Linked DNA regions of Homo sapiens: regions 2, 3, 4, 5, 6 and 7 are each linked to region 1. Evidence: promoter capture Hi-C in 16 types of primary human blood cells and fetal thymus (Javierre and others, 2016). All regions are on one chromosome and are shown on one strand. The core of a region is centred on a gene start or on the middle of the fragment in contact, and the rest is flanking DNA. Distances in the headings are between cores, read along the strand shown.

Region 1 (3,040 bases), core at 346-2,845:
CTCATGTAAATACTAGCTGCAGAAGGTCTGGCAAAACTTTCTCCTATTTGTATATGTGTAAAGTGGTCTTTCCCTTACATCAAGTTAAAGAAAAAATACAGTTGTAATAGCTACTTCCCAATAGCCAAAGGGTTGTATTTGAAAGAGGGATGAAAATCACTCCAGGTACCAAGAAAAACTACTGTGTGATCTGGGACAAGTTATCTGCTTTTTTTGAGACCCACTTTTCTCATCTTTACAATGAAATAACTAAATTCTGCTCTCTAGGCTTGTTCTGAAGATTACTGAATATACATTTAAAGTACCTAGAAGTATTTGACACATAGCAGGAACTTAATATACAATTACTGGTATTACTATTAAGGATTAAGAAAGCACTGGCATGCAACATATTATATATTTGACAAGATTACATCATCTTGAAAAAATATAAGAAGTATTCTTTTTGTATAGTACTTTAAGGAGGATATTATTCATTTTATATCATTTTCCTTCTCACTGTGATATGTAGAATATATCACACCAAAATTGTGGTTGACCCAACACTCCAACCAGTGTCCTATTTTATTCACTCTGTATTTCTTAATCTATTCAATAAATATTACTAAATCCATTTGCTGTGCTAGATGCTGAGGGAGGTGTGTGACACAGCCTGTAGTCTAGTAGGGGAGGTAGGCATTAAATAATTAACTCCAGTCAATTTCAGTGCTATATATGAAAAAGACAATTCACTCCTTTTTATGACTTGACTTACAGCTCACAGTGCCCAGAAAACTGGGATTCTTGATAGAATGCGCCACATATATCCTAATTAGCAACAATCACTAGTTTGGCCCCATAATGTACATACCTAACACACACTTTCACAGGCAAGAGAAGAAAATACCTATCATCATATTATGATCAAAGTATTTTGAAGTAAAAATACTTCCTCATTATTTCTTAGAATACTGCATACAGCAATTCCTTTAAAAGCAGACTCTACTAGCATGTTTCCCACTGAACAGAACTGTTTGTCCATTTAACCAAAAGGTATTTATTGCCCGGGAATTCATTAGTTCATTATTTGAAGAAATACGTATATTGGGCAAGAATGTAAATCAGGCTGTTTAGTTATCACATGAAAATGCATAAAACAGTACCCACATTCAAAGAGTTCAAAGAGTCCTTCAGGAAATCAGGTGCCTAAAAGTCAAACTGACCTTTAAAAAAAAAATGTTCATAGCTTCCTCTGTTAAATGAATGATCGTTTCAGAGCTTTCTAAATGCCAAACTCTTTTAATATATTATTTCAATTAGCTTTCACAAGCACTTATGAGGCTTGTTGTATGTTTTTTTTTTCCTTTGAGACAGAGTCTTGCTCTGTCACCGAGTCTGGAGTGCAGTGGAGCCATCTCAGGTTACTGCAACCTTCTCCTGGGTTCAAGCAATTCTCCTACCTCAGCCACCCGAGTAGCTGGGACTACAGGCGTGTGCCACTGTGCCTGACTAATTTTTGTTTTTAGTAGAGACGGGGTTTCACTCTGTTGGCCAAGTTGGTGCGTACTCCTGGCCTCAAGTGATCCGCCCACCTTGGCCTCCCAGAGTGCTGGGATTACAGGCATAAGCCACTGTGCCCAGCTGTATCTTCTTTTACCGATGAGGACACTGACAGGTTGGTATCACCTCTTTCCTAGTCTATATTGCAGCCACTCCCTTATTGAAGTTTCTGACTCCAAGTCCTACTCATCCTAATCTACCTGCAGCTTTTAAGGTGTCATTTTTCTAAAACTTAAATATGATCCTATCATTGTTCTTCTTAATAGCCTACAAAGATTTCAGGGAAAATGAAAATGACGAATATAAATTATACTGCACACACTATTTATAATAATATTTAGCCACTTAAAATTAAAACACATAAAAATGTGGGTAAAGCTCATGGTAAAATAGTAACTACAAATAATTACAAGTCACAATCTTTGCAATTATGAGAAATGTTTAAGTAAGCACCTGATAAAAAAAAGGAAAAAGCAAAAGTGATAACAGTTGCTTAGAATATTGTTTCAGAACACCTTTTAAGGTTACCACACTGTTTTAATTTTTAAAGTGGAAGAGAAAGTGCTTTAGCACTGTTGATAGCTGCCACCCTGCCCTCAAGATAAAGTGAATCTTGAGTCTTACAGCCCTTTCTCATATCTGTATCAACATACATTTTAGCCTAATTTCTTACTAACTCCTCAGTATATTCTTGAACACTGCATTAACTTTCATGTCTAACTGCAAACCTCTGCCCATGCTGTTACCAGTGTGGATATGGTCTCTGGTTTTTCTACCTATTTAAATGTCACTTTGTATGGAATTCTATTTCATGTTTAGGCACACTGCATGAAATTATTACTTCAACTATCAGGTTCTTTCACAATTCACAACTTCTTGAGAGCATGGAACATATCCTATGTATTTTTAGTATTTTCTCAATGCCTAGTGTAAGACATATGGCAGAGAGTAAGTGTGCAACAAAATTGTGTTAATATTCATATTTTTCATAAGTGAAAACAATTTTTTTGTTGATATGATGCTTTGATGGTTTCTGATTTAAGGTTAGGATGTTAAACGGACTCTATTTTTACATGACCATAATTCTACTCCCCAATTCTGTTCCTAAATCTTTAGTGAGCTAAGAATTCAGATTCATGGTAAGGTTAGAATTGTGCTGGACTGCTTGTGACTTCAACTATCCATCTTCCATGGTCAGTTCTTGATCAACTGATACAGTTTGGGTGTTTGTGCCCTCCAAATCTCATGCTGAGATGTATTCCCCAATGCTGGAGATGGGACTTGGTGGGAGGTTTTTGGTTTTGGGGGTTGGCTCTCTCACGAATGCCTTGGTGCCATCCTCACAGTAATGAGTGTTCTTGTGAGATCTGGTTGTTTAAAGAGTGTGGACCTTCCCTCTCCTGTCTCCCTCTCTTGCCAAGTGATACATGGTTCCCCTTCACCTTCTGCCATGATTGTAAGCTCCCTGAGGCCCTCACCAGAAGCAGATGCCAGCACTACG
Region 2 (2,803 bases), core at 185-2,684, 300 kb after region 1:
AATCTAGAACAAGGTCTGGAGTATTCAGTTTGAAGTTGGATGTTTTATAAAAAAGTCGGACAACTATCTATTTGTGTTTCCTGCCCTGCATTCCCATAGCACTTACATAATGCTCTTTTATGTACAAAATATACCATATCTGTCTGTGCATCCCCAAAACCCTAGTGCAAGCTTTTTAAGATTAGAAACCTCTTTGGCCTCGCCAGCCCCTAACAGAGGGACTGTGTAACCTGTAAACTTGGCAAGCTCCACTGAAGGTAAGCAAAAATATTTTTTTAAGTATTGTTTTTTTTTCAAAGATAGTCAAAGAGAAAAAAAAAGAGTAAAATTTGAAATGATAATAAGCAAAATTTTCAATCTTGAGAATAACCCTAAAATACTCCATTAATTTGGTTAGACGGACATCAGTGCCATCACTTTTTGTACAGTCTAGTTTTAATTCTTCGAGCTTTTACATTCTATTACTTCTTAAGATGGATGCTTCTCTTCTAATGAGGTCTATCCCCTACATCATACAGTTTGTTTCTAAGACAGTATGAGGCAAATATTACAAAATGTCAGAAAAAGTTAGAAAAAGTAAACTTGTCCCCCAAACTTCAAATTAACTGAATTTGCATCTTTGCAGGAGTCTACTTCCAACAACTTTAGTATCCGTGACATGTCCCTCCCATTGCCTTGTAAAAATATAAACCTGTTTCCTTCACAGTCCGAATGACAAAATTTCTCTTGATCTCTGAGGAAGTGCTTTGTATTTGTTCTAGGTAGCCAGTTTACATTTGAAAATAGAAAAATGTATGGATTTAAGATAATAGCTTCTAAAAACCTTCAGGCAACACAAAAAAACTAAAATGAAAGTTTCAGTAGAAAGTAGCAAATTTCTCCTTCTTAGGAAGTGGGTGTCCTCATGGAATTTACCCGCTACACTACACATTAAGATTTAGAAACCTGGCCAAGCATTGTTTTATAGTTTAATCCCCTTCCCCTACTACATCTTAAGGAGACAAAAAACAAGTACTTGGCCATTACTTTGACGAACAAAATTTCCAGTTTCATCTTTATGACATAGGAAACCTATGTCATAAATAGTTAAAAGGATTAGTGCCATCTGTTTCCTATTTAAAAGTGGCTAATTTTATAATAGGTTTTGATTTCCTTTCCAGTACCTTCCAGGACTCCAATTTTCCCTACTTCCTACACATCTATTTACTTGTTTATCCTGGGCAAATAATTTAACCCCTCTCTGTCTTGTTTCCTCATCTTGAAGTGCCCACCCCACTGAGGTCCGGTGTGAGGACTAAATGAGACTACCTCCATGATGTGCGAAGGCACACTGACGAGAGGAATAGATGGGTCTTCAATACTTGTTCCTTTAGACGTACTCATTCCTTCTTCCACCAAACAGTAAAGAAAATAAAACTAGAAAATGTATGAAGAGAATACTTTCGAAGTTTAAAAATGAGATGACAATGTTAAAGGGTGGTACACTTAAAAACTTCCAACTTAATGGCACTTAACCTTCATAACCTTTCTTAACCCTTCCCTTCACAACTCTACCTATCCCTTTCATCCCAAAGTGAGTCAGGCCTCTTTCTCAGTCTTATCCTTCCTATTCCTCTATAACCCTCCCTCTCTCACTCTTTCTTTGAAATCTGAAGTAAATTTAAAGTATTGTTGCCTCAACGCCCACTCCAAGAAACACACACACTTACTTCACCAACAATTTCAAAGGACTCATTGATCTAAGTTTAAGAACTCTTGTTTTAAGATTTTTCCAATTTCTGAAATCATGGCACTCTCCTACAGCTATCCAACCTGCACAGCTTTTATGTTACATAGTAGTGAAAAGTTTTGAGAAGTAGCTGCTAAAAAGAAAAGCAACTTAAGAGAAAATAATCAGTAACATGACCCAAAAGGCAATAAAGGCTTTGTCCTGTGGCCAATTTTGTAATCATCACTCACCTTTCCAAAAGATCCAAGATTGAAATGAACAATTAAAGGTAAGAGAAGGTAGTGTGGCCTGTATTCCCTGGAAACTGCCTGAAGACTAAAAATCATGCTAACAATTCCCACCTGTTGTCTGGATATACTTCAACACTGTTAAACATTAAAGACCAGAACTGAAGGTCTAAAGAGAATGAGTGCACAACACATCTATGATTTCTATGTAAATGAATATTCTCAAAGTCAAAACATTCTACTCGGTAGTCACATTATTTCTGAAGGTACCAAATTTTTATTTTTTGTTTCCCACTGCATATTAAAGTTATGTTTATACAATACTGTAGTCCATTAAGTGTGCAATAGCATCATGTCTAAAAAAAAGGTATATAAGATATATAAAATATATACCTTAATTTTAGAATAGTTTATTGCTAAAAAAAATGCTAACAATCATCTGAGCCTTCAGCAAGTCATTATCTTTTTGCTAGTAGAGGGTCTTGCCTCAATGTTGAGGGCCTTGCTCTGGATTAGGCTTTGGCTTAAGGGAATGCTGTGGCTGGTTTAATCTCCTATCCAGACTACTAAAACTTTCTCCCTGTCAGCAATAAGGCTGTTTCACTTTCTTATCATCTGGGTGTTCACTGGAGTAGCACTTCCAATTTCCTTCAAGAACTTTTCCTTTGCATTCGAAACTTGGCTAACAGGAACAAGAGGCCCAGCTATTGGCCTATCTCAGCTTTGATATGCCTTCCTCACTAAGCTTAATCATTTTTAGCTTTTGATTTAAAGTGAGAGACCTGCAGTTATTCCTTTAAGTTGATAATTAAAGGGCCACCGTAGGGTTACTAATTGGCTTAATTTC
Region 3 (2,992 bases), core at 84-2,583, 320 kb after region 1:
TTTAAGCTCACTTACTGTTTTTCCTCGTGTAAAACATGGTTTTAAAAGAGAGAAATACATTAATATCCAACCCACTACAAACTGAGCTACTAAGTTACATTATCAGGAAATAAACTTTTTAAGAAATCTAAAAATTTCCCACATTTTATTTATTTATAACACTCCGATCTCTACGTTGTAATTAAAATTTAAAAGTGCAACCATCATAATATTCCATAAAATAGCAACATTAATACGTCGATTTTATTTTTGTTCATAAAGTTTATTCTAAGTTCTTGAAATCTTGCTTTATCAGAAATACAATACCTATGGGAATTAGACTATGTCAGTTACCCCAAGGATATGACAAAAAAAGTTAAGATATGGCTTTCAAGTACAGATCATCTATTGTAGCTTTGACACAACACATATACTTTTATAAAAAGCTGTGGAGAATAAAAATATTCAAGAGTCATTATAGCATTATTATTACAGAAACATGAAATGAGGCTACATTATTTCCAAGTACATACTTATTTATATAAAACACAAATAAATTTTCCAATTAATCAATTCAGTATATGAAAGAACGCAATATTAAGAAACAAATCTGATTAAGCAAAGACCCAAAATGTAAAATTCTGCCAAAAAGAAGCTATTTTAGTCAAATCCAGATGGAGACTACTAGATGAAGTTTTGAACTCAGTATCCACCATCTCTAGTCCAATAAAAAAGTGTCTTTCACTTGCAAATAAAATGGTTGTTAGATATATTAAAATAATTTCTTTTCATTATATTAACATAACAAAAACCCTTCCCCAAATCTTTAAAATATATTTGTACTTAAAAACTATGTTTATTGTATTTTATTCATGGTGAATATTAAAGCCATAAGTTTACAAAATTTTCTGTAAGAATGACAATCCGTTTCCTTTTGTAAACTGAAATATTTTAGTTTGTTAACAAATGTATGATCGATTTTTATTTTTCCCTATTTCCATTCTTTGAGAAGTTTTACTGGAAATATAATCCAATATAATGGTCGAATTGAAGAGAATTACTTTTCAGTTACTTATTAAGTATTTTTAGCTATTTCTTTAATAAGATATGTATGAAAACCTGAAAGCTCTATAACAATTTGTTTAACTTCTAAATTGGAGGTGGAGTAAATCAAACTTCCTGTTGAACACTGATAAGAAAAATAATCACTAATTTGGCTACTGATGAATAAAAATATGTAGGCACCACAGCATAGAAATGACTGTGTCCTTATTAAATAAGAAAGCGAATAAAAATCCACCTATCTAAGAATGTTAGTAATTGCTAAGGGCTTTTGCAAACAGAGATTTCCATACTATACTTGCCCTCCCTTATTCCACATAAGAAGGCAATTACCAGAAAAGAAAGAAATGAAGGTAAAATCATGAAAAGAAGTATGAATAAGGCATAAGACAAAATTCCCAAGAGAAACCTAAAGAACTCAAATCTGATGTCCAGAAACATGAACAACACTTCACTGTCAACCTAGAGCAATGGAAAATAAACTATAGCAAACCTAAAATCATGGAGTGTTACCATTCCTCACACCTCTTCTGCATATTCATTTAATCAAGTGTAAGCAGGAAATAAAACACTGAAATATATTTGCCCATAAATATTCCCTAGTAGATTTTTTTCAAGAACTAAATCTCCCTGGATAGTGGTTTATAATTGAATGTACAATTGCAGATGAATGAGAGATTATATCAACAGGAAAATACAGAAATTCATTGTAGTTTAATGCTTTCATGATCTCTGCCTTATCTTCTCTTTTATTGTACCAAATATAAATAATTGAACAAATGAAATGTGAGGTGAGAGGTGCCCACTGCAATATTTTAGGTAAAGAGCTGCTGCTGTTTTACCACCTTAGTTAAAAAACAAGCCAGCATATCCTCAGAAGCTGATTCTGTTATAAGGGAGAGAAAGACAGAAACATATTCACACCGTTCAAAAAAAAAAGAATAAAAAAATCATTGTGTCATAGGCTTTATTTGTAAAATACATGAAAAATTTTGATGAAAAGAAGTGCTGTTGAAAGGGTATAGGCGTTATAGTCTATTTGTTCTGTTTTACTTGGGTAATAAGGAAATTTTAAGCATTTAAAATCTATTTAAGCATTGGGATTTGGGCAAGGTTGCCAACTGTGGAAACTCTTTAATGATTATAGGAGACTTATGGGTCAGGTGACCACATAAGTCTTCCTCCAAAGCAAAACACAGAGTTTTGCACAGAGAAACAGGGCACTATTAATAAATATTCCCAGGCTACAGGTATGAACCATTACTGTCCCGGGAAGAATAGCACATATGGGCAATCCACCCACTAGTTTTAGAATGTGGAGCAGCACTGAGAGGCAATCATGTACTAAGAAAACTATGTACTAAGTCCATGTCTATGGACTGATACATGCATTCACTTGATGGGGATGGCAGAAGGGGAGAAATAAAAACTCCAAATAGCAGGATGGGAGCCAGAAATAACAGGCCAGAAAAAGGAGTTGGAGGATCAAAGACACTAGATTTTTACAGGGCACCCATGGGCTAGCTCACAGCAAGGTAGAAAGTATTAAAGGTAGCAATCAGGGTCAGATATAAAAGTGTTCTTAATTTTAAAGCCTTCAGTGTTTTGTAAGAAGCAATCAGCAGGTATTATATATGTTGGAGTGCAAAAGTAGAAGTAGAGGAAGGTAATTTTGTTAAAATTCAAGAACAGGAGACTTATCAACAGCATCAAATGCCCTTAAAGGAAAAAGGAAAAGAAAACAGAAGGTAGAGGCAGTGCACAGAAAGGTATTCATCAATCCAACGACCACTGATAGAATCCAGTAATGAGTATGCTAGATCAAGGCTTCCAAACAGATGGATGAAAGGTGCAATCTGTCTCCAGAAATGTTTTGTTTGACATGCACAGTGCTTTGTAAATATTTAAGCCAATGTTTTTAAAGAAAAATTCAACGTAACAATTGGTATTT
Region 4 (2,987 bases), core at 190-2,689, 320 kb before region 1:
GGGGTCACAGAATTTCTGTTCTCCCAACATGATATCCTGTGTAATATCATCTCAGACCAGGTGACACAATTTGTCACAAGGGAGATGCAACAGTGGGATATACCTATGGGACTCATTTGTTGTATCATAGGGTACACAATTTGGAACCTGCTGGCCTCTTGGATTTGGAACAAATTTTTGAAGGTTCAGCTGAGGGATCAACACAGTAGTATAATCCATGCTCCAGGGTACCCTTAGGATCAGGCTGGAAAGATTAGGTTGGAGTTCTTATGAAACCATGTATTTATCTAGATCCTTCTCCTATCCTGCTGACTTCTTCCACTTCCATACAGATTTCTCCTAAGAACACTCCAATAAACCACTGAACGAGTATCTTCCCCCTTAACCTGTGCTTCTAGGGAACCTGAGCTAAGATAACAAGGACTAGATGAGTATTTGTCATGGCACATAAGAGTGGAAGTGGGAAAGAAAGAAAACTCAAAGAAGAAAAGATGCAAGACTCCAAAACTAAAAAACCTTGATGTAATATTTTATATATAATTTAGAACATATATATATTATAAAATAAAAACACATAAATGCATTGAGGACTTACTTTTTCTCAGACAAAGCTCCAAGCACTTTACATCTATACATTCATCAAATTATCACAACAACTCTACAATGTAGAGTCTATTTTAGTCCCTATTTTACATATATGTAGGAATTTGAAGCAGAAGGAGGCTCACAAACTTATCCAAGGCAACCCAGTAAACAGGGAGTCAGTATTCAGACCTGGGCAGTCTGGCTTGAGTTCTCATATTCCTAACTTTAATCAGTTCATTCAGCAAACACATATTGAGTGCCAGATATATGCCAGACACTATTCTAAGTGTCTGGGTGTAGTGCAGAAACCAATAAGAAATCCTGCCTTCAGGGGGTTTACAGTCTAGTGTAAAGGAGACAGAAAAGAAACAAGACATGTAAAAGATATAGCTTGTTAGATAGAATAAACTATTATGGAGAAAATTAAGGCAGGGAAGGAGATAGAAAGACCAATAAGAGTTGAGGTTACAGTTTGAGATAGGGTGGCCAGAGCAAGGCACATTGAGAAGGTAATATGTGGATAAAGCCTAAAGGAAGTAAGGGAGTGACCTGTGTGGAGAGGAGAGCAAAAAGTGTTCCAGGCAGGGAGAACAGCAAATGCAAAGGCCTCAGGGTAGGAATAGCCCTGGCATGGTTGATGAATAATGGTGTATTAGTCCATTCTTACACTGCTAATAAAGGTATACCCAAGACTGGGTAATTTATAAAGGAAATAGGTTTAATTGACTCACAGTTCAGCATGGCTGGGGAGGCCTCAGGAAATTTATAATCATGGCAGAAGGGGAAGCAAACACGTCCTTCTTCACATGGTGGCAGCAAGAAGTGCCAAGCAAAAGTGGAAAAAGCCTTTATAAAAGCCATCAGATCTCATGAGAACTCACTCACTATCAGGGGAACAGCATGGGGGAAACTGTCCCCATGACTCAATTACCTCCCACCAGGTCCCTCCCATGACACATGGGGATTATGGGAACTACAATTCAAGACGAGATTTAGATGGGGACACATCCAAACCATATCAAATGGGAAGGTCAGCATGACTTGAGCAAAACGAATAGGAAGAGTACAGAGAGAGAATGGGAATGTATTGTGCACACCTTTCTAGATCATTTTAGGAATTTTGGCTTTTACTCTGAATGAGGTAGGACATGACTGTGGTGTGTAATAATAGCACATATTTTAATGAGATCATTCTGGTTCTCACAATCAGAATAGATTGATAGGTAGCAAGGGCAGGAACAGGAAGAATTGTTACAGGGTTTTTGCAATAATCCAACAGAGATGACTGAAGTTTGGACCACAGCAGTAGAAGTAGAAGCAGTCAGAAGTGTTATAGTTGTGGAAATATTTTCATGGTAAAATCAAAAGAATATTTTTATTCTATTGGATTTCATTTTTAGTAGTCCAGCCTACCGGGGTTATAATTAGATCCTAATTCTGACTCTCCCCAGCGTTTTACATGTTATCATCTTCCTTTTAGAGGCAACTTGAACCAAGAACCTTTGGTTAAACACCTAAAAGTCTCATTATATGTTGACTCTAATCTTAAAGAGTTTTTCTATTAAAATCCTGGATGTAAGAGTTGAGCTAGCCCATCTCAACAATCACATTTTCCTCTTTCCATTTCTCACTCCTTTCTGACAGCCTTTTCCAAAACTGCTTGACTGATTCAATTAGGAAGAGGCCAATATTAATAATTGGTAGTTTTGGCACCTATCTATGCAGCTTGGCCATGCTGTGAAATTTGGTCATTATGACTGAGCTCAGCACTGTAAGTCCATAGGGGATGGAGAGGGCAGGGAGGACAATCTCCCTCCTCATGGCTTTTTTAGCACAAGCAGCCCCCTCCTTAGTGAACAATTTATTTCAATTCTAGTTAAAGAATATTTTAACTTAATCGTTACAGGAAGATAGTTATTCTAGAGTTAAACATAGAAGAGAACACATACAAATAAAAATTAGGAAGTTTATTTTCAACCTTCCCAAATCTCCAATAGGTGAGCATGAAGTTTATTACACTTTTCAATATCAAGACAACTGGAAACACAGTATGTGAAAGGACTTATATTTAGAAATGTTATATATGATTTCTATTAGAAAGCCCTTGATAATTTACAACCAAAGTAAGATATGCATTCTCTTAATTTTCTAATCAAAGAATGGTAGTTACTAAAAGTACAAATTTAATTGTTCTCAAATTCCAAACAAAAATATTAATTATTCACTATTGTTTGAAAAATAACAAATTATATGAGTCTAAAAACACCTATGGTGCAGTTTGTCAAGGCTGTTAGGTTAAGATTCGCTGTGGCCTTCAATAACCAAATGTGGGTCTTAGAAAAGTTTCTGTTCTTATCTGCACAAACAGGCAAAATAAATAAAAGAAAAACTGTCCCATAAAA
Region 5 (2,875 bases), core at 131-2,630, 280 kb before region 1:
AATCACTTGAACCCAGGAGGCAGAGGTTGCAGTGAGCGGAGATCATGCCACTGCACTCCAGCCTGAGTGACAGAGTGAGACTCTGCTTAAAAAAAAAAAAAAACAAACAAAAAAACAAACAAAAAAACAAAAAAACAAAACAAAACAAAGATAGAATCACCAAATGATGTAGTAACTCTGCTTCTGCTTATGTATATTTAAAAAAAACCTAAAAGCAGAGACTCTAACAGATATTTGTAACTAATGTTCACAGTAGTATTATTCACAACAGCTAAAATGTGGAAGCAACCCAAATGACCATTCATGGATGAATGGATAAACAAAATATTTTACATAGATACAATGGGATATTATTCAGACTTAAAAAGGAAAGTAATTCTAACACATGCTACAACATGAATGAACCCTAAAGACATTATAGTAAGTGAAATACACCAGACACAAAAGGTCAAAGATTGTTATGATGTCACTTACATGAGATACCTAGAGTAGTCAAATTCATAGAGATGGAAAGTAGAATGGTGGTTGTCAGGGGCTGGGGGTGGGGGAGAAATAAAAAGTTATTATTTAAGGGGTACAGATTTTAGTTTGGGAAGATAAAAATGTTCTGGAGATGGAGATGGTGGTGATGGTTCCATAACAATGTGAATGGCCTTAATACACTGTAACTGTATACCTTTAAATATTGTTAAAATGGTAGAAATTTGTATTATGTATATTTTACCATGAATAAAAAAGAATATGAAGAATATTCCTTCTTGGATTTTGCAAAAATCATTTATTAAAAAGACCAACATATAGAAGAATAAATTATTTTAGAAATAATATATAGCACATAAAAGGTGATTCATTAAAGAAAGGTGAGAGAGAAAATGGGCTATTCTCCTGAGAAGGGCAAGCAACCTAATAAGAAATTGGTCCAAAGAACACCAAAAGGCAAAAACATCACTAGGTGACTGTCTTGTCCAGGTTAAAATAATGATATCTCAGATACAGTGATGGTTTTGCATTAGAGCCCCTTAATTTTATCACTTGACTGCTACTCTTCTGGGCATAAAACATGCCAGATACGAAGCCTAAGCCTAGGAAAATGCCATCACCCTCAATTTTTCTCCCACGCAAAGCCAAGTTAAATGAAAAAGTCTGCTTGACATTCAGAAATTTACAGATGTGAATGAAATGAAGGGAGAAAGTTCATTTAGAAATATGACTGGTGTTTAAGGGGAGTAAGAGAATGAGATCTCTGGAAAAAGAGTAAGACAGAATGGTGATGTTCAGAGGATACACCATTCAGTCCTTAAATGTAATGGGAGTATAAAGGGTTTCTTAGGATAGAGTCTTTTAAGAAAAATGTACAAGTGGTTTTTTAGTTGCTATGGTATTAGCTTTGCAGGCAGATGCTGAATTCAAACAAAACTATAGACATCTTATTGTGCCCCCAGGCTGCTTCACATATGTGTGATGATGAAAAGGATGATGATTAAAACAAATTCTTTTATAAATCTTATCCCAAATTCCTGAGGTACACAATGCATCATAAATGCGAATCATTTATTAGGAATTATTTCTGTTGAATACAATATATAAATAGTAAAAAGCAAGTCTGTTTTTCTAGTCATTTCCATGTTATGACTACAGGTATTTCCCTAGGTTAAAGTGCGACTCACTAATTTTACTTTGAACAATAAAATATATTATCCTTTAAAATGTTTTTTGTCTAGGAAAAGTAGATAGTAAAGACAAAAAACTGAAATCTGGAAATAAGACTTTTATTAAGTATTGAATAAATGTTGACCAAATTTTCAACATCTGGTATCAGGTACAAGGATCAGTGTTGACCCTAGAACAGACTGTTTATTGACTGCACCAGGAAATTATTCTCCAGTGAGTTGCAGAATCTTCAACTGTCTTTATTGGGTTTACCAGAGTCTGGCCACTTTGTTCAGGATGTTAAAGAGGGGTTTATTCTTTGGAAATTTTTGGTGGAAACAACATGTGTCTTTTATAGTCTCTTCTTGATCATTTTGTCTCTGTCAATTCCTCAGCCTCTCTTAATATCCTTATGTTACCCCCAGGCTCTTCATACTGCATCACCTCCAAGAAATGTACAATTGAAAATAATGAGTGAAGACTAACAGTGACATCTGCACTTCCATGTTCATTGCAGCATTATTCACAATAGTCAGATTGGGGGACAATCCATATGTCCATCGACAGAAGAATTAAGAAAGAAAATGGGATATATTCATACAATGAAATATTATTCAGCCTTTAAAAAGAAGGAAATCTTATCATTTGTGACAACATGGATGGACCTGGAAGGCATCACACTTAATGAAATAAGTCAGTCACAGAAGGACAAATACTGCATGATTCCACTTACATGAGGTATCTAAAATGGTCAAACTTGTGAAAACAAGAAAAAGAATACTGATTGCAAGGGGATAAGAGGAGACATGAGGTGTTCTTGTTCAATGAATATAAAGTTACAGTCATGCAAGATGGGTAAATTATAGATATATGCTCTACAATATAGTGCCTGTGGTTAACGATACAATCCTGTGCATTTACAGATTTAAAAGGGTAGATCCCATGTCAAGTGTACTTACACACACATACACACACACACACACACATTAGCAAAAAGATTCAAGGAGACTTTTGGAGGTGATGAATATGTTTATCACCTTGATTGAGATATAATTGTAATATCAAGGGTGTTTACTTATGTATATCCAGACTCTTCAAATGGTATACCTTAAATATGTACAGTTTTATTGTATATCAATTATATCTCAAAAAAGTTGCCAAAAGAAAAAAGAAATGAAACAATGGAACTTATGTCAACATGGCTCCTGAGCTTAGAGATATTTAA
Region 6 (2,765 bases), core at 8-2,507, 490 kb after region 1:
ACTCTTACATTTTTGGTTTAAACAAAGAAAACTGAATAAGTATATGACACATCAAAGTCCCAACAATGCTCAGCCTTTCAAAATTTGCTTTTGAAGCTTACTACATTAGGAACCACATGATATCGGAAAGTAAACTGATCTTAATGAGTATGATTTGAAAGACATACTTCAGATATTTTTAAATTCTCAACATGAATTTGTCTTGGACTTTTAAAGTGGGTTTATTTAAATTTCTCAAAAGGAATAAAAGTTCACTAGTTAAAGTAAAATATAAGAAAAACCAGCAATATGGAATACACCTCCAATCTTCAATACATCTCTAATCTATGTCTGCAACAAATCTGACTGCCATAGAATTTTATGACAATAAAATATCAAATGATTTATGGTAGCCAGAAAAAAAAGGAAGTATTTACAAAACAAACTTATAATTTGTGGAGAAAGGCAAATCCACAATCTGACTTTAAACTCTGGGAATAAAAGACATTCATTTCTGGGCATACATTCCTAAAGGGCAAAATCTTGAGATGCAATCCTGTGATTACTGTACTTTTTAGGAATGCACATTATATTAATTAAATATACAACATCATGTCAAATGTTATGCTTTGTCACTAAAGAAAAGCCAGGCATATTTAGTTAAAGTACTTAGAACTAGATATCTAAGAACACAATTGTTTATTGTACGTATCTAAACTCCAGGTATCAGAAAAGCTCATTTTCACATTCAGCTGGAGGAAAAGTAGTATTTATTTGTTAATTAAAGGGTAAATAACATTTAAAAAGAGAAAAAGTTTTCTAACTGCTGAAAATATATCCATCGCTGTTGAGACATTAATAGTTGCAACTCTTGAATACATGTAAGTTTAATTATGCAACTGGTAGAGTTCAAACTTTCAATTAACAAACTACAAGCCTTTTCAAGCGTAGGCTCTCCGTGCAGTGACAAACACTGTGCAGAAATCAATACTCACTCCAACTTGCCTGCATATAATGAGTTACATCAAGCACGGTTTCAATGCTAACGGGCATTATATGTCAGAAATGCATGCAGTAATGCTTACTCCAGAAAGAATTCAATTAAACCATTGGATTATTTTTTGCATAGAGCTGTTACCCTCTGCGTACATCAATTATATACAGGGCTTTTCCTCTGCGTGCTGCCATTTCATAATCTCTGCCTGAATGTACGACACATGCTGCCACCTGAATCTGTTGTTTAACTCCCTTTACAGAGTTCTAAATGGGGCGGGGGTAGGAGAGCAATGGAAGGGAAATAAACGATTACTCCAGAAAACAACAATTTGAGTTTATTTCCAGGAAACAGGGCCTCCACAACAACGTGAGAAACTGTCAGGTACAAAGTAAGTTATTTGCGTCCTGCGGCTTCAGCCAGGAGCGTGGCTGTCGCTTTTCCCGTCTTCTCCATCACCCTCTGGCCACCACTGCGTCTCCATCTGCACCGCGAACCCCAGCAGCAGATGCGCTCGCCAGCCAAGCGAAGCTGGGTAGGTTGGCCAGAAAAGTTGTCAGGACTGGCGGGAGGTAGACAAGTGCTCGGGAGCCCGCTCCCCAGCGTCCACCTGGTGAAACTTCAGAGCCCCCAGAGGAGAGAACGAAAGAAGCAACCAACCTACACGAAGGATAACAAAACTGGAGGGGAACAGAGGGCGGGACCGGGAGAGCCAGGGTTCACGGACTTCTCTGAGCGGCTTGACCGAGAACCCCCAGGGCTACAGCGAGACGCTCCACTTGTCTCCTTTTGGGTTCTCCGGCAGAAGGCAGACATTTACAGTCCGCTTCCAGCCCCAGGCCGGATCCGGGGAGCGCGGGGCCAGAGCCCCAGGCCGGATCCGGGGAGCGCGGGGCCAGCCTGGCGGTGGTTTTGCCCGAGGAGCGGGCTCCCACGCGCGAGTCAGGCTTCCTCCACCAGGCGCCCAGACCTCGATGCCCATGAACGCTCAGAGTGGGTCCTTAGAACCGCATTTCAACACATCTTACAGGGCTCCGCCAACACACACACAGAACATGCTCCAAGCAGTGCCCGAGCGCACAGGGCAAGCCCGGGAGCAACCCAGAGCTGGGGGAGGAGAAAAGGGGACTCCGGGAGGGACGGGGAAGTAGTTAGACAATAGTCAGGGGAGGTTATTCCCGGGACAAAAAGCACCTGGCAAAGCGCGCCGAGGTCAGTCCCTTCGAATCTCCACATTTCTGACAATGGCTTCCCAGGGAATTTGTTTAAACACCCAAGTGGCAGACAGCAACAAACCCGCACCACAAGCAACAGAGTGCCGTCACGGGAGTCGTAACTACTTTTTCTTTCTCTCTTCCCCACTAGCCCGGCGCAGGCCACGCGAGACGCCGAAGCCAGCAGGTCCCCACACTCTCCGGCTAGACCGTGCCAGCCTGAGCCCCGAGCAAGCTTCGGAGAGGAACAATGGGTGCCCCGCGTCCCACCTGGCACGAACTCTGGGGACAGCCCTCCCTCTACCCTGTGTTCCCCACCCCCGGACAGAGAGAGCTCCCCACGATCCTTGTCCCCAGCCCTAGCGGGGACCTGGCTCACCCCTCGTGAGCCCAGGACTCCAGGCGTTCGTCGGGGACGCCCCCCGGCCACTCACCTGCGGAGAACTGGCCTTGGGCCGATCCCAGGAGAGGCCAAGGAGAGAGGAGCAAGAGCGCCACAAAAGCAGGCAGCGCCGCCGCCGCAGTCGTATCCATGCCGAGTTTGGGAGAAGTTTCAAGCAGCTTTGCAAAGAGCTGCC
Region 7 (2,807 bases), core at 186-2,685, 280 kb after region 1:
ACAACCCAACTATCCATAGACAAATGACTGAATAATCAATTTCAGCTTATTCAAAAATAGAATGCTATACAACACTGAAAAAAATGATTACCACTACATAAACCTGGATATTGACTGGGAAAAAAAAATCGAGTAGCCAAAAAATATACAAATCATGATACCATTTATAAAACATTTGTTAACTGTATAAAACAAAATATTTGTTTAAAGTAAATTAAAGAAAAAAGAAACAAAATGATGAACAAAAAATTCAAAATACTACATTCCTTAGGATAGAAGGAAAGTGATTAATAGAGAGAAACTTTTAGGAAGTACTGGTAAGATTAAGTCGATTTCCATAAAACATACATATATTATTATTATTTATATTTCCTGATTAGTCATGTATAAAATATTTCACCAAAAATAAATATTAATAAAAGAAAATTAAATACACGAACTGCTTGCATTTAGAGGAATTTTTTTTAAAAAGGTGAAAAAAGAAAAAACGATCAAAAAAGTTTACCAAAAAATAAAGGATAGTATAGGCTTTTATATCTAAGGAAGGAAGGAGAGTCCAATAATCTCAAATATTACATGGAAGTCAACGGGAATAAGGACTTGGGAAAAGTCAGAGATATCTCATCAGAAGACAGCAATTTTCGACGCATGAAAGGAATAGCAACCAAGTTACAAGTTATGAGACAATTTGAAAGGAACTAGAGGCATTAAGTAAAAACCACCCTACGAAGTCCAGCTATGAAGAACATATGTCCAGAAAGACAGGGCAAAGTTTTTCACTGTCCTTCTGTACATCAATTCTTCTTAAGTTTCATAAACTTTCGCCAAGCTTTGCAGCTGAATGAAACCTTTACATATTTGCAAAGAGACAGGTAGGCATCAGTGGACACGTGGTGTACACCGGAGTAGGCCTGGAGAAAAGAATCAAAGATTCAGGAGAAGGCAGATCATTGTTAAGGTTACATGTCACTTTTAAATAAATAATATTATAATCTTGGGCACTAAAAAATGATAGGGTTGCCATTCTCTATATTAAATGTCTCACCACTCAACAGTCAAGTCAATAGGTTATCAATTACAACCCTGCTAGAGAACAACTTCTTAATTCAAAGATTTAATATTTTTCATTCTTTTTTCACTTACCACACAGTCTAATCCAACTGAGCATTCACTAGACCTTTTTAAAAACTGAGACCAACTAAAAGACATGGTACAGACATCACCTCTCCTACTCTCAATTCTCTTAACCCCTGGTGCAAGGACAAAATCTTTTCCTAATAGGGACATGGTTCCTCTTGGAAGAGGAGTGGGAAGTGAAAGTTAGGGTATAAATGGGGCTTCCTGGAACAAAGCTGATGGCAGAGAGGGGTGGGGGAGCCTAGAGTCCAGGAGTAATCAGAAATCAATTCAGATCATCTAGAGAGTAGGAAATCATTACAGACCAGATGCAGGAGTCCTGGTCTGCAACCAACGTTCGGACCCTACACAAGGCAATGGCTATGCTGAAGTGTGGTAGCTGCTACATAAAGCAGCTTGCTGACCTCCCCACACTGGAGTTACTGCCGTCAAAGTCTGTTACCTCAGCAGCTGAAATAACTTCTCATCAGCCTCTTTGTTTTATATTATGGAAGGAGAGAACCTTAAAAAAACTTAAGAATTAAAAAATGTTGTGTGGCCAGCTTGTAATAAGAAGTACAAATGTCATTCTAATTCATATTTTCCAAACCATTCCCTCTGAATTAAGATATTCTGATTTTTTTTATTTCTCCTTCTCATGGCTAATAAATTAACACCATTTTTATAGAAAATTTCCAATTCTCCCTGGTACCAGTTCACTCCCTCCCAACAATATGATCACAAAAAATGGTTTAAGTAATCTCCCTTATCCACTGTCTTTCTAGTAGAGGTAATAAGATTGAAAAATAATATGGAAAGTTCCAGTCTCGGTGCCTACAAAAAAAATGCCATCCACTTATATGCAGGCTAATCAGAAATGCAAAGGTACTAGACAATGAATAGCCTTTCTCTTATCTTTCTTTTCTAAGCTTAGTGAGCTACTCTGTCTTTACCCAACAAGCACATGCTTTATTAAGTTAGTTATAGATGACTAAGCTTTTACTTGGATAACAGGGGAAGTAGATTGTGCCTTCTTTCTCTCTGATTTCTGGTCACTCCATAAGATAGCTGATAGATATACATGGTCTCACTGGGTGTAGAGATGATTTGTTAGGATTTATTGGCTGAGGTGAGAGGATTGTTTCTGTAACATGAGCTCTCTCTGAACTAGAGTGAGACCCAAGGCTGAAACTCAATATACGGCATAACCTCTTGACAAGGGTAGTCCACTGAATTTCAGTTAGCATAGTGATAACTAAGAAGCACAGGATAACGTTGCCTTCCGTATCCTTTGCTGGATGTTTTTCCAAAAAAACAAACAAACAAAAAACTCCGAACAAGGAAGACACAAAAACAAACTCATTTAAAAATGCTGTACCTTACACAACTCAGGCCCATAGCTAAATAACTCAACTGGCTCCAAACTGGGAAGCAAATGGCAATGAAAAAGCAGAAAGGACCTTTTGCTGCACTGTGAAGGCAGCCCACTGACAATTCTCAGAGGCAAGTGGCACCGCAAAAAGGAACTCTCAACATGAACAAGGAGCTTCCTGCTGCCAATCAATGGAGTACTCTTGGCTGTATGCTGAGTGAATGCCATTTATTAACTGGGCTGCATTAAAACCAGCAGGTCCATTTGTGAACAGCAACCCACTTTATTCTCCAGGAGATCTTGGGGAGTAGCATGCCCT

Evidence for each region. The method cuts DNA at HindIII sites, captures the fragments that hold promoters and counts their contacts. A CHiCAGO score of 5 or more calls a contact.
Region 2: a fragment that was not itself captured here is called in contact with the fragment with the promoter of PTPRK-AS1 in region 1 in 1 of 17 cell types (non-activated CD4 T cells); the score reaches 5.4 in non-activated CD4 T cells.
Region 3: a fragment that was not itself captured here is called in contact with the fragment with the promoter of PTPRK-AS1 in region 1 in 2 of 17 cell types (fetal thymus and total CD4 T cells); the score reaches 6.7 in fetal thymus.
Region 4: a contact is called between a fragment that was not itself captured here and the fragment with the promoter of PTPRK-AS1 in region 1, in 1 of 17 cell types (naive CD8 T cells). The highest score is 5.4, in naive CD8 T cells.
Region 5: a contact is called between a fragment that was not itself captured here and the fragment with the promoter of PTPRK-AS1 in region 1, in 3 of 17 cell types (naive CD8 T cells, non-activated CD4 T cells and total CD8 T cells). The highest score is 8.5, in naive CD8 T cells.
Region 6: a contact is called between a fragment that was not itself captured here and the fragment with the promoter of PTPRK-AS1 in region 1, in 4 of 17 cell types (fetal thymus, naive CD8 T cells, naive CD4 T cells and 1 more). The highest score is 10.9, in fetal thymus.
Region 7: a fragment that was not itself captured here is called in contact with the fragment with the promoter of PTPRK-AS1 in region 1 in 1 of 17 cell types (non-activated CD4 T cells); the score reaches 5.7 in non-activated CD4 T cells.

Annotation. Positions count from the first base shown.
Region 1 is chr6:128,026,270-128,029,309 of GRCh38, forward strand. PTPRK-AS1 (PTPRK antisense RNA 1) reads left to right here and starts at 1,596. Exons shown (of 5, transcript NR_125849.1): 1 at 1,596-1,654. The region is part of intron 13 of PTPRK (protein tyrosine phosphatase receptor type K); the gene reads right to left. The HindIII fragment of the contact is 8,791 bases long and covers 1-3,040 here.
Region 2 is chr6:128,331,171-128,333,973 of GRCh38, forward strand. All of the region lies in intron 2 of PTPRK (protein tyrosine phosphatase receptor type K), which reads right to left. Among named protein-coding and RNA genes, the nearest start is that of PTPRK, 190 kb to the right of the region's middle. The HindIII fragment of the contact is 2,530 bases long and covers 170-2,699 here.
Region 3 is chr6:128,347,669-128,350,660 of GRCh38, forward strand. The region is part of intron 2 of PTPRK (protein tyrosine phosphatase receptor type K); the gene reads right to left. Among named protein-coding and RNA genes, the nearest start is that of PTPRK, 170 kb to the right of the region's middle. The HindIII fragment of the contact is 3,565 bases long and covers 1-2,992 here.
Region 4 is chr6:127,705,663-127,708,649 of GRCh38, forward strand. It overlaps THEMIS (thymocyte selection associated), which reads right to left. Exons shown (of 6, transcript NM_001010923.3): 6 at 2,538-2,987. Among named protein-coding and RNA genes, the nearest start is that of LINC02536, 43 kb to the left of the region's middle. The HindIII fragment of the contact is 3,320 bases long and covers 1-2,987 here.
Region 5 is chr6:127,742,226-127,745,100 of GRCh38, forward strand. All of the region lies in intron 4 of THEMIS (thymocyte selection associated), which reads right to left. Among named protein-coding and RNA genes, the nearest start is that of LINC02536, 80 kb to the left of the region's middle. The HindIII fragment of the contact is 4,802 bases long and covers 1-2,875 here.
Region 6 is chr6:128,517,638-128,520,402 of GRCh38, forward strand. PTPRK (protein tyrosine phosphatase receptor type K) reads right to left here. Exons shown (of 30, transcript NM_002844.4): 1 at 2,622-2,765. The coding sequence starts at 2,721. Among named protein-coding and RNA genes, the nearest start is that of PTPRK, 1.6 kb to the right of the region's middle. RefSeq lists enhancers at 2,136-2,729, 2,730-2,765. The HindIII fragment of the contact is 2,326 bases long and covers 95-2,420 here.
Region 7 is chr6:128,308,015-128,310,821 of GRCh38, forward strand. The region is part of intron 3 of PTPRK (protein tyrosine phosphatase receptor type K); the gene reads right to left. Among named protein-coding and RNA genes, the nearest start is that of PTPRK, 210 kb to the right of the region's middle. The HindIII fragment of the contact is 1,216 bases long and covers 828-2,043 here.